2 separate regions of the Homo sapiens genome follow, and region 2 is linked to region 1. The links are contacts of gene promoters, found by promoter capture Hi-C in blood cells and fetal thymus (Javierre and others, 2016). All regions are on one chromosome and are shown on one strand. The core of a region is centred on a gene start or on the middle of the fragment in contact, and the rest is flanking DNA. Distances in the headings are between cores, read along the strand shown.

What was found. Contacts are between HindIII fragments. The CHiCAGO score rates a contact against its expected background, and 5 or more counts as called.
Region 2: a contact is called between a fragment that was not itself captured here and the fragment with the promoter of SNX12 in region 1, in 1 of 17 cell types (total CD8 T cells). The highest score is 5.4, in total CD8 T cells.

The regions. Positions count from the first base shown.
Region 1 is chrX:71,065,855-71,071,916 of GRCh38, reverse strand. SNX12 (sorting nexin 12) reads left to right here and starts at 3,583. Exons shown (of 4, transcript NM_013346.4): 1 at 3,583-3,775. The coding sequence starts at 3,611. RefSeq lists silencers at 3,368-3,587, 3,427-3,620. The HindIII fragment of the contact is 9,631 bases long and covers 1,745-6,062 here.
Region 2 is chrX:71,247,303-71,252,855 of GRCh38, reverse strand. It overlaps ZMYM3 (zinc finger MYM-type containing 3), which reads left to right. Exons shown (of 25, transcript NM_201599.3): 2 at 1-267; 3 at 1,255-1,298; 4 at 1,612-1,678; 5 at 2,130-2,424; 6 at 2,653-2,830; 7 at 3,177-3,395; 8 at 3,687-3,837; 9 at 4,055-4,170; 10 at 4,332-4,418; 11 at 4,544-4,694; 12 at 4,950-5,122; 13 at 5,346-5,511. Among named protein-coding and RNA genes, the nearest start is that of ZMYM3, 4.1 kb to the left of the region's middle. The HindIII fragment of the contact is 6,691 bases long and covers 1-4,682 here.

The sequences.
Region 1 (6,062 bases), core at 2,334-4,833:
ACATTTTCTGGTTAAAAAATAAATGTAAGTTTATTGTTAAAAAATCAGATCCTTTAGAAAATTATAAAAATATAAAATCCAACTGAAACCCCACCACACAGAGGTAACCGCTGCTACATTTTGGTGCATGTCTTTCCAGACTTTAAAAATTATATATAAATAATTATTTATATATATAAATATATATTTATATATATATTTATATATCTATATATTATATATTTATATATAAATATATTTATATATAAATAATTATATATAATGATATAGATATATAAATATAAATATATAAATATTATATATTTATATATAATATATATAAATATTATATATTTATATATATAATATATAAATATTATATATTTATATATAATATATATAAATATAAATATATATATAAATTAATATATAAATATAATAATTATATATAATATAAACTATAATAATTATATAAATATATAATTATTTATATTTAATTATATATAATTATATGTTTATATTATTTATATATTACATTATATTATTTATAATTATAATTATTTATATTAATTATTATATATAAAATATACATTAATACAAGTGATATCATACTACAATATTTTTTGCCAGCTTTTTTCACTTTTTCATGGACATCATTCTGTATCAACAAGCATAAGAAATTATTTTAAATGGATAGATAGGGGAACTGTAAATTAGGCCATTTACACAAGATAGTGAAATTTATGATGGAAGTGACTAAGATAAAAAGCCTTGTAAAATATAAAATCCACTACCCCTTTATAATACTTGTTATATAAGCAAATTCACAAATTAGAAAAAAAGACTACACAAATATTGCAGAAAATGAACAATTATTTGCTCTTAAAAACAAGAACCTTACACTGGTATCTTTATGTGATTATCTGATTATTTTCTGAGGATAAATTATTGGAAGTAAAACTTTTGAGTTAAAGATTTTGGTAAATAACATTAAAAATAAAAAATACAAAGGCATTATACTTAAACACAGTTAATGAAAAACAACCCTCCCTGCCGTCTGTGACTTCTTTTCTCCAGTTCTGCTCTCCAGAGACAACCAGTATTACAAGTTTCTTCAAGTCAAAGTTTAAAAAAAAAATACATACTGCCAATCTATTTCCCAGAAAGATTGTACCGATTCACATTCCTACCAAAACTGCATGCCCTCACCAACTTTCAAATCTTCTGTCCTTGCCTCTTCATGTTTTTCTTTCTACATGGTATGCTGATGACTCTCATATCTCTATCTCTCTAACCCTGACCTCGCCCTCGAGCTCCAGGCCAGTATTTCCAGCTACTCGCTGGACATCTCCACCTGGATGTTCTACAGACACCCCATATTTATCTAAACTGAACTCATTTTTTACAGATGAGGAAAACTGTTTGTATAATTTGCTCATGGTTATACAGCTAGAAAGCAAGGATTTAAACCCAGGCAGCCTAAGTTCATGGGTCACACATTTAAGCCCTACACTATACTACCACCATATCTAATCACGTACAAGTCGTATCTATTTTATTTCTTCAATCTCTTTCCTATCTCTTCCCTCCTCTCCATTGTCACCATCACCACTTGATTCGGAGTCTTATTGTCAATACCTTCATAATTCAACTTAAATATACCTTCCATGTTGTCTACAAAACAATTCTTCTAAAACATAAATCTGATCATGTATTTTTCCTGCTTAGGATCCTTCAGGGACTCCCTATCACCTACCAGAAAGCTTTGTATCACCTATCATGAAGTCAGAGATCCTTTACTTAATATAAGCGGATCATCCTTTGTCTGCCCATCCCTAGCCAGTCTACCTTTCTAAACACTTCCATCACACAGTCTGAATTGGCGATAAATGCCTAAAAATGCTCCACTGTTTCTTATCGCAAGGACTTTGTGTATTCTTTCTTTCTTTCGCTCTCTCTCTCTCTCTCTTTTCTTTTCCTTTTCTTTCTTTCTTTTTTTGATGGAGTCTTGCTCTGTTGCCCAGGATGGAGTGCAGTGGCATGATCTCAGCTCACTGCAACCTCTGCCTCCCGGGTTCAAGCGATTCTCCTGCCTCAGCCTCCTGAGTAGCTGGGATTACAGGCGTGTGCCACCATGCCCAGCTAATTTTTGTATTTTTAATAGAGACAGGGTTTCACCATGTTGGCCAGGCTGATCTCGAACTCTTGACCTCAAGTGATCTGCCTGCCTCGGCCTCCCAAAGTGCTGGGATTACAGGTGTGAGCCACCGCGCCCGGCCTGCATATGCTGTTTCTTATTCCAGAAATTACCTTTCCCTATTTCCACTCCTATTTGTCCTTTATGTCTTTTCATGTCTGTTAAACTCAGATGTTTCCTCCTCCAGGGGAACCTCCCCTAATTTTTCCAGTTATACATTTCCTATGTGCTGCTTTGAACATTTACTTATTTTGTATTTGTCGCATTATATTAGTTTTGTTTACTTGTCTCCCTTGCTAGAATGTTAACTCCTTGAGGGCAGGGACTCTTATTTAACTCCAGGATTTTAGTGTTTAGCATGGTGCTTGGCACGTATTTGCTTAGTGGATATTGGTTAAATTGAATTAAACAGCAATTGTGAAATTGTAGGGCCTCATACTCTGTTGAAAGAATTTCAGGCATCAGTGATATGGGAAATATTTTTTGAGTAGAGGAGGGCAGGGGAAAGGTGGAGAAAGGATGACCTGAAATCATCACCCAGTCTACCCTTTAATGTGGAGCATATGTAAATTAGTCATATAAATATTAATATTTCTATAGATATTCTCATGTAAACATTTATTCTATCTCCATTATGGGTTGCAAGCAACCTCAGAGCAGTGCCAAGTATGGAGTTCTGCGGAGTAGAAATAGAAGGTATGAAATAAGTACCCTCAATTTGCTGATAAATGTAAGATTGAGTACACCTGGAGTGTGGCAACAAGGAGTAAGATATGCCCAATTTTCCTGAAAAGTAAGAGAGAAATGTCTTTCTTTACCCCATCCTAGTTGCTTGCTGCTTTCCTGGCGCCATACGTAGTGCTGAGTGCGCCATTGTGTGTGGCGTGAACTGAAACCATCAGTGGCACAGGTGGGACGGCTACGTTATAGGTTCTCAGTACTATTGTTGGAACCCCACCCTCCATAGACCACCCTTCTATTTTCGCGGAAAACCAGGACTTATTCAGGTCACTGGGCTTCGGCCTATCACTGTAGGAGCCTGGCTCACGGGGCAGTGCCCACTGTTGATTGATACACGGTACGAGACAATTTCTTGGGTTGAGGAGCCGCGATTGGCGGAGCCAGCCTGTGCTGCTAGGCAGGGTATTGGGTACTGCGTATTGGGGATGCAGGTTCCCGGGTGGCCACAAACATCACCCGGAAGCCTGAATATGGCCTCCACTCTACAGGGCGCGCAGCAGTCAGCACGGCCGCTATTCAGAGCCCGGGGCCCAGGCCCGTGCGGCGTGCGCGTGCGTGCGTGGGCGCGCGTGCGCGCCGCCGCCGCCTGTGGGTTGGCTAGTTATTTTGCAAGCGGGAGGGGCCGTGCGCGCTCCTGCCTCAGGCCTCTGTCCCCCACCCCCTTTCCCCGGTCCCAGGCTCTCCTTCGGAAAGATGTCGGACACGGCAGTAGCTGATACCCGGCGCCTTAACTCGAAGCCGCAGGACCTGACCGACGCTTACGGGCCGCCAAGTAACTTCCTGGAGATCGACATCTTTAATCCTCAGACGGTGGGCGTGGGACGCGCGCGCTTCACCACCTATGAGGTTCGCATGCGGGTGAGTCACGGGGTGAGGGAGACAGCTGAGGGAGGACCGGGCGGCGCGAGCGGGAGGGGGGAGGGAGGCTACCGCGGGGGCAACTAACGGCGGGGAAGACGCCTTAGGGGTCATTTGGGGGTTAGGGGTATAATAGGCTTGGAACGAGGTCTGCCGATTCAGTTGTGGCCGGAGGATGCAGAAAACTCCTGAGGGAGACATCGGACGGGGATGCAGGAAAGCTACCCATGAGGAAGTGAAGCATGGCTGGATAGGGTGGGGTGGATGGAAAAAGATTAGAGTGAGGAATTCAAGGAGATAGGAATCACGGCTGTAGCGACTGAAGGAAGGGAGGGAGGATGGAAGAGGGCTGGGGGATGGAAAGCCAAGGCGATATATCGCTGAGCTCCATAACTAAACTAGGTTGTGAGAAGTCTGAAGAGGGAGGGCAGGAAGGCCGGCTGCTTTCTAATGAGGTCTCCCTGGGATAATGGAGTAAAGCAAAGCCTTGAATTAAAGGGAAGGTAGATTCCAGAAAAGGCAGACAGTAGGCTTGTGGGAGCAGAAATAAGAAAGGGAGTCTCCTTGAGACCGAGCGCTTTCCTAACTTGTGTCGGATCAGCATCTGAAGGAGAGAAATGTTTTATGCTTAAGTTTTCGCAGATACTACGTGCTGTCTCGCCTTGAAACCTGGCCTGGCCCTGGGATTGGTGCCTTGTCAGTCACTGCTTTCATTCTATGTGGATCCTTTAGATTTGAAGTATCCAGAATGTTTATTTCAGTATTTATTGACTCTCGTTTAGGTACTTTGTATATGAATGGCTTTTTGCCCTTTCTGTCCTAGATTACCCTTTTGGATTCTGACCCTGGTCTGTAGTTACTTTAATACATGACATTTCAGAATTGCCCAGGAGTGGCTTCTTCCAGCATGCATGATAGAGGACTTTACTCTCTAGTGCTTAGCCCATAATGCAAGGATGGAATGTGCAGATAGAGTACTTGGTTTGCAGGATCTTTTGCCCACTTGAAGTGGTTATAGGCAAAACAGTTTGAGAATCATTTTCTAGTTTTCCTTATGTTTTCTTCTCAGACTAAAAGGCCAGAATATTCTCTGTGGACAGCATCCTGCTCAAACAGCATTGAAGAACTAAAAGAGTGTATGTGCTTTCATTGTTGAAGGAGTGAATTGAATGAGAAATTGTGGTCTCCTACTTGGGCTTTGAAATCTTATTGAGAAATTATGATTTCCAGATTCCAAGTTTGGCAAAGTCCAAACTGAAGAAAGAAAAGTGAATAGCAAAACATGAGAAACACTTGTCTATATAAGAACTATGTGAAATCATGTCTTTGGGGGAGAATGGAATTTAGGTCCTTCAGAATATGATAAAAGCAGGAAATTGTCAGTGCTGGAGAACTTAGTTACCTGAGGGAGCTTGGGCATGACTAGTACAGCATAAGGGCTGTCTGCTGTGGGGTTTTGGAGACATTCAATGCATTACCCAAGAGTCTTAGGGATTCTGAATGAAATCGCTCTTTACTCAGGGTATTCTTTTTTTTTTTTTTTTTTTTTTAAGAGATGGAGTCTCGTTCTATTGCCCAGGCTGCCGTGCAATGGTGCAATCTCGGCTCGCTGCAACCTCCGCCTCCTGGGTTCAAGCAATTCTCCTGCCTCATCCTCCCGAGTAGCTGGGATTACAGGCACATGCCACCATGCCTGGCTAATTTTTGTATTTTTAATAGAGACGGGGTTTCGCCATGTTGGCCAGGCTGGTCTTGAACTGCTGACCGCAAGTGATCCTCCTGCCTCGGCCTCCCAAAGGGCTGGGATTAGAGGCGTGAGCCACCACGCCTGGCCCTACTCCAGGTATTCTAATAGCAACAGGGACTGTTCATCTAGTGCCTACTGTGTACCAGGCACTGAACTAGGTTTTAATTTGTGTTAATCCTTACAGAACTTCGTTTTACACATGGGAAACTGAGGAGGAATGCAGTTTAAGTAACTTGCCCAAGTACACGTAACTATAACTGACAGGGCTGGAATTTGAACACAAATATGTCTGACTCCATATTCTTTCTGCTACACTTCTGTCTCCTTGACAACACTTAGTAGCAAAACTTTAGCATGCAAAATTTTTCTACTCACTAAACTTTTAATCGGTCCCTTCCACAATTTTTTTTTTTTTCGAGACAGAGTCTCGCTCTGTCACCCAGGCTGGAGTGCAGTGGCATGATCTCAGCTCACTGCAACCTATGCCTCCCAGGTTCAGGCGATTCTCCTGCCTCAGCCTCTGGAGTAGCTGGGACTACA
Region 2 (5,553 bases), core at 88-2,587, 180 kb before region 1:
CCTGTTCACCTGAGGGGCTACTAGAGCCTTTGGCTCCAGATTCTCCAATAACACTGCAGTCCCCACATATTGAAGAGGAGGAGACCACCTCCATAGCTACTGCAAGAAGGGGCTCCCCTGGGCAGGAGGAGGAGCTTCCCCAAGGGCAGCCACAGAGCCCAAATGCCCCGCCTAGCCCTTCAGTGGGAGAGACTCTGGGGGATGGAATCAACAGTTCTCAGACCAAACCTGGGGGCTCTAGCCCCCCTGCACATCCTTCCTTGCCAGGTAGGTTGCCTAATTATCTGGAGAATCAGGGCTGGGAGAGGGTGGTGGTAAGGAGGGGTGGCTATGTGCTTTGGGAAGTAGTGGGGAGGAGGAGGGTGGAGAGATAAGTGTAGGGATGTGTGTGGGGAAGGACTTGGGGTTTACGAGGGAGGAGTGGGGTGGTGTGTAGAGGAAGATTAAGGAAAGTAGGGGTGGGCACAGGCTGTGGGGGAGGAATGGGGTAAGGTTTCAGGGAGCGTAGGTTGGGAGGAGTGAATTTGGTGGGAAGGGTTCCCTTTTTCCTACCCCAGTGGGCTTTTGGTGCCAGAGTCCTTCCTTCAGGATTTGGGGGAGTACACCAGGCTTCTTGGTTCTAAGACCTTTACAGCTTTTTGGTTCTAGATGGGAGTGGGATTTCTGGGTTTGATGAATGGTAACTAGGTTCTGGAGCCCCTAACAGCATAAGGATTTCAGCAGAGCGATAGAAATGCAGGGTCTAGGATTGCGTCTCTGATAGGGGAGGGACAACCTTGACTTGAGAGGCTCTAGTGTCTCCCCTCTTCTGCCTAGTGGTGTGCCTCTATCAGGCTGTGACGAGGGTCTTAGGGCTTATATAACCACCTGAATCCAGGGGAAGCTACCCATACACTGATGCTTCCTTTTCCTTTTGCTACCTTTGGGTGGTTGTGTGTGTTTTTCATTGGTAAAATATAAATTCTTAATGAAAGGTATATTACCTGTGTTTCCTTAACCCCCAAGGATTGGGACAGAAAGCTGGTGGGAAGGATAGATTTTTTTTTTTTCATGGAATAGCTGCACGTGCACCCCCCCACCCTTAGTACAGAGCCTGAGGTAACCCTGAGAGGGGCCCCAAGAAGCCACAGGCACTCGAGTTTTCCCTTTCAGTTTTGAGTAAGTTCTTCCCCAGGAATGGAGGCGGGGGTTGGGCCGGGGAGAGGGTGGTGAGGGCAGGCTCAACATTTAGGCTGCCTTCTGCTTCCTTTGCAGGAGATGGCCTGACTGCGAAGGCGAGTGAGAAGCCGCCTGAACGGGTGAGGGGGAGGGGATTGGAAGGAGTCTGGTTCCCCCTTAGCTCTGGGAAGGACAGACCCTTCATTTTCCCTCCCAGATGTTGTTCTGTAGAGAGTGTGTGTAAGGAGAGTTAGGAGGAGGGAGGGAGCACTAGTGTCTACTGCTTGTTGGGGAGAAAGTCCAACCTCCTTTTCTTCCCTCCTCCTAAGGGCTGGGCCAAGGGTCCCCACTCTCCCTTCCCCCTCCCATCTTCTATCCCCCCCCAAACCCTGTACTAGTGTTAGCCTGGCCAGGGTGTCAGTTTTCCTCCCCTCCCATCTTTCCGAGGTACAGAAGAGAAGCGAGCGCGTTAGGAGAGCAGAACCTCCAAAACCTGAGGTTGTAGATTCCACTGAGAGCAGTAAGTAGGATTTGAGGAAGTGTGACCTGGGAGTTCTGGGTGTGGAAAAGGTCCGAAAGTGGCATGCGGCAGGGCATGGATCTTCTAGCTCCTGCCGTCCTGCTCCATGAAGCGCATGAAGTGCCTGTCTCTGCTATGGGTTGGCATGGGAACCAGGGGCAGTGGGGGAAATTGAAAACAAGAGCAGTGAGAATGGCGAGTTTCCTGTTTCAGCTATGCCATCTCTGTCTCCGAATCTTCTCATTTAGAGCCTCTCCCTTTCCCTCCCTGGGAGGTTACAGAGTAACCAAGGGAGAGAGACACCAAGGTCTTAAGATACTGATGTAACAAGGGCCAGGGTGTAAAGGCCGGAACAACAGGGATCCCAGGAGAGGGACTGAACTGTTGGTCAGGGGATGGTTGGAGACCTGGTTTGGTGGCCTTTCTCATGTCCATCCCCCCACTTTCTCAGTTCCAGTGTCAGATGAGGATTCTGATGCCATGGTAGATGACCCCAATGATGAGGACTTTGTGCCATTCCGGCCCCGGCGCTCTCCTCGCATGTCCCTACGCTCAAGTGTGTCACAAAGGGCCGGGCGCTCTGCAGTGGGCACCAAGATGACTTGTGCACATTGCCGGACACCACTGCAGAAGGGGCAGACTGCCTATCAGCGCAAGGGGCTGCCTCAGCTCTTCTGCTCGTCATCCTGCCTCACCACTTTCTCCAAGAAGCCCTCGGGCAAAAAGACCTGTACCTTCTGCAAGAAGTGCGTGAGGGTCTTGGGGGCTATGCAGAGGGCAGGGATCTGGGCAGGAGTATGAGTAAGACAGAGACTGTTGGTAAGAACCTAGCAGGATGGAGCTGGGCGAGAGAGTGATGTAGGGAGAGAGTCAGAGTATTTGGCTCTGTGGTCATTGATCCTGGAGGAGGGGCGGAAGCTGAGGAAATGAGAGGGTGGTCTTGAGTGAATATTCAAACCTGTTCCCACCTCTAGGGAGATCTGGAACACCAAGGACTCGGTTGTGGCGCAGACTGGTTCTGGAGGCTCCTTCCATGAGTTCTGCACATCCGTCTGTCTCTCCCTGTATGAGGCCCAGCAGCAGCGCCCGATCCCCCAGTCTGGGGATCCCGCCGACGCTACTCGCTGCAGCATATGCCAGAAGACTGGAGAGGTGAGGACACTCAGTGGGGGCTGATTTACAGAGCCTGGCCAGCCCTGACCTGCCCCTCCCATCCTGGGGCTGCAGGGTCCAGGCCCTGTGGAAAGGGGAGTGGGGAGGAAAGGCGGCCATCATGAGGGAGCGTATTCAAGGACAGAGCTTCTCCAGGATGTGCACAGCTGGCCTTCCTTACCTCCCAGGACCTCACCATCAAGTCGGCAGCCTGCGGCGCAGGTTGGGGGGTCCCTGGGCCCACTGTCTGCTGTGAAGGTCTAGGGTGAGGTGGGGGGCTGACCTTGCATTGGGGTGGGCGGTGGTGGCCAGGCCCTAGCTCAGGGTGCGTGTATGTGTGTGGCAGGTCCTGCACGAGGTCAGCAATGGCAGCGTGGTACACCGGCTCTGCAGCGATTCTTGCTTCTCCAAATTCCGGGCCAACAAGGGACTGAAAACCAACTGTTGTGACCAGTGTGGGGCTTACATCTACACCAAGACCGGGAGTCCTGGCCCTGAGCTCCTCTTCCACGAGGGCCAACAAAAGCGGTTCTGCAACACAACCTGCTTGGGGGCGTACAAGAAGGTGGGGCCGAGGGAGTAGTGCATTAGAGGGCTGTGGAAGGGGGTGTGGTTCTTGGGTTATAAATAAAGGTGGCTGATGGGTCAAGGGCTGGGAGAAATAAAACAAATAAAGGGGGTTTCAATTGTATCCGTTATGTTTTATTTTTGAAGCTGGCTGGTGGATACACAGGTCTTTGTTACATCATCATCTATACTTTTTTTGTATGCCTGAAATATTTCATGTTTAAAACATTTAAAAAATAAAAGTGAAGGGACAAATCCAGCCTCAGCCTCTCCTTCCCCATCCTCACAGAAAAACACACGTGTGTACCCATGTGTCTGGTGCAAGACCCTGTGTAAGAACTTTGAGATGCTATCACATGTGGATCGTAATGGCAAGACCAGCTTGTTCTGTTCCCTGTGCTGTACCACTTCTTACAAAGTGAAGCAGGCAGGGCTCACTGGTAGGTGCAAAGCCCTCTTCTCTGAGTCCCCTGCTGGCCTTCTCTCTACCTCCCATACTCCCCTCTTCCAGAGTAATCCTTGCTGCCCGACCTCAGTCCCAACCACATCTCCCCATGGATTTTCTGTTCGTCTCTTACACTGCCTTACACCTTCTGTGTGCTCTCTCTCTCCCTCTCTCTTTCTCTTTTCCTCTCTCTCTTTCTCTCTATGCCCCAGGCCCTCCCCGACCCTGCAGCTTCTGCCGCCGCAGCCTCTCTGACCCCTGTTACTACAACAAGGTTGACCGCACAGTCTACCAGTTCTGCAGCCCCAGCTGCTGGACCAAGTTCCAGGTACTCCAGACCCTGGACCAGGGATAGAAGGGTTTGGCAACATAAAGAGGGTTGGAGAATTGGGGTAGGCAGGCCTGGGCAGAGCAAAGAACAAGCCTGACTCCCCTTCCCCACCGCTGCACACATCTTGCCCCTCCCTTACTTGTCTTCCTTCCCTCCAGCGCACAAGCCCTGAGGGGGGCATTCACCTGAGCTGTCACTACTGTCACAGCCTCTTCAGTGGCAAGCCTGAGGTCTTGGACTGGCAGGTAAGAGCCCCACCCCCACCCACGTCTTGCCACACGACCAGACTGTCTGAAGGGGTCCTTCCACTTGGCCCCTGCTGGGGCCAGATGTTACAGCTTGTCCTCCCTGCCCTGTGCCCCCACCTCAGGACCAAGTGTTCCAGTTCTGCTGCCGTGATTGCTGTGAGGACTTCAAGCGGCTTCGGGGTGTGGTGTCCCAGTGTGAGCACTGTCGGCAGGAGAAACTCTTGCATGAGAAACTCCGATTCAGCGGAGTGGAGAAAAGCTTCTGCAGCGAAGGTAAGGAGATGGGGAAGGGCAGAAGACACTATAACTCCCAGCCAGGGAGAATGGAGGAGAAGGGAGGGAGGCCGGGAAAGTGGTCCATGAGGCAGGGCCTTCTGCCCGGGATGTTCTACCCCCATCTCCCCTAAAGTTTTGGGCACAAGGGGCTGCTTAGAGAGAGGTTTCAGGTATAGCACCTTGAAAAGGTTGGGTCTCTTGCCCTTGGGTATCTGTGTCTCTGGACTCTCTTTCCTCTTCTCCTCTTTCCAGGCTGTGTGCTGCTGTACAAACAGGACTTCACTAAGAAGCTGGGCTTGTGCTGTATCACTTGTACTTACTGCTCCCAGACCTGCCAGCGCGGAGTCACCGAGCAACTGGATGGCAGCACCTGGGACTTCTGCAGTGAGGACTGTAAGAGCAAGTACCTGCTGTGGTACTGCAAGGTAAGGAGGGTCAGCATGCGAGCGAGGCGGGAAAGAGGGCAGTGGGGAGCACGGGCTGTGGTACTGAGCTCGGGGTGTGGACAGATCTCCAGGGAGGGCAGCCAGCCTTCCATCTCTAAGCTGGCCCGATCTCCAAGGGGAGGAGCATGGCTTATCCCGGGGGAAAGAAAGGGCCCAACGCATTTTAGGGAGGCAGGTCTGACCATCCTTTTGACATCCTCAGGCTGCCCGGTGCCATGCGTGTAAGCGCCAGGGGAAGCTGCTGGAGACCATCCACTGGCGTGGGCAGATCCGTCATTTCTGCAACCAGCAGTGTCTTCTGCGTTTCTATAGCCAGCAGAACCAACCCAACCTGGATACCCAGAGTGGGCCCGAGAGCCTCCTGAACAGTGAGTCCCAGGCAGGGGGTACACTCTGTTAGAGGGAGCCTG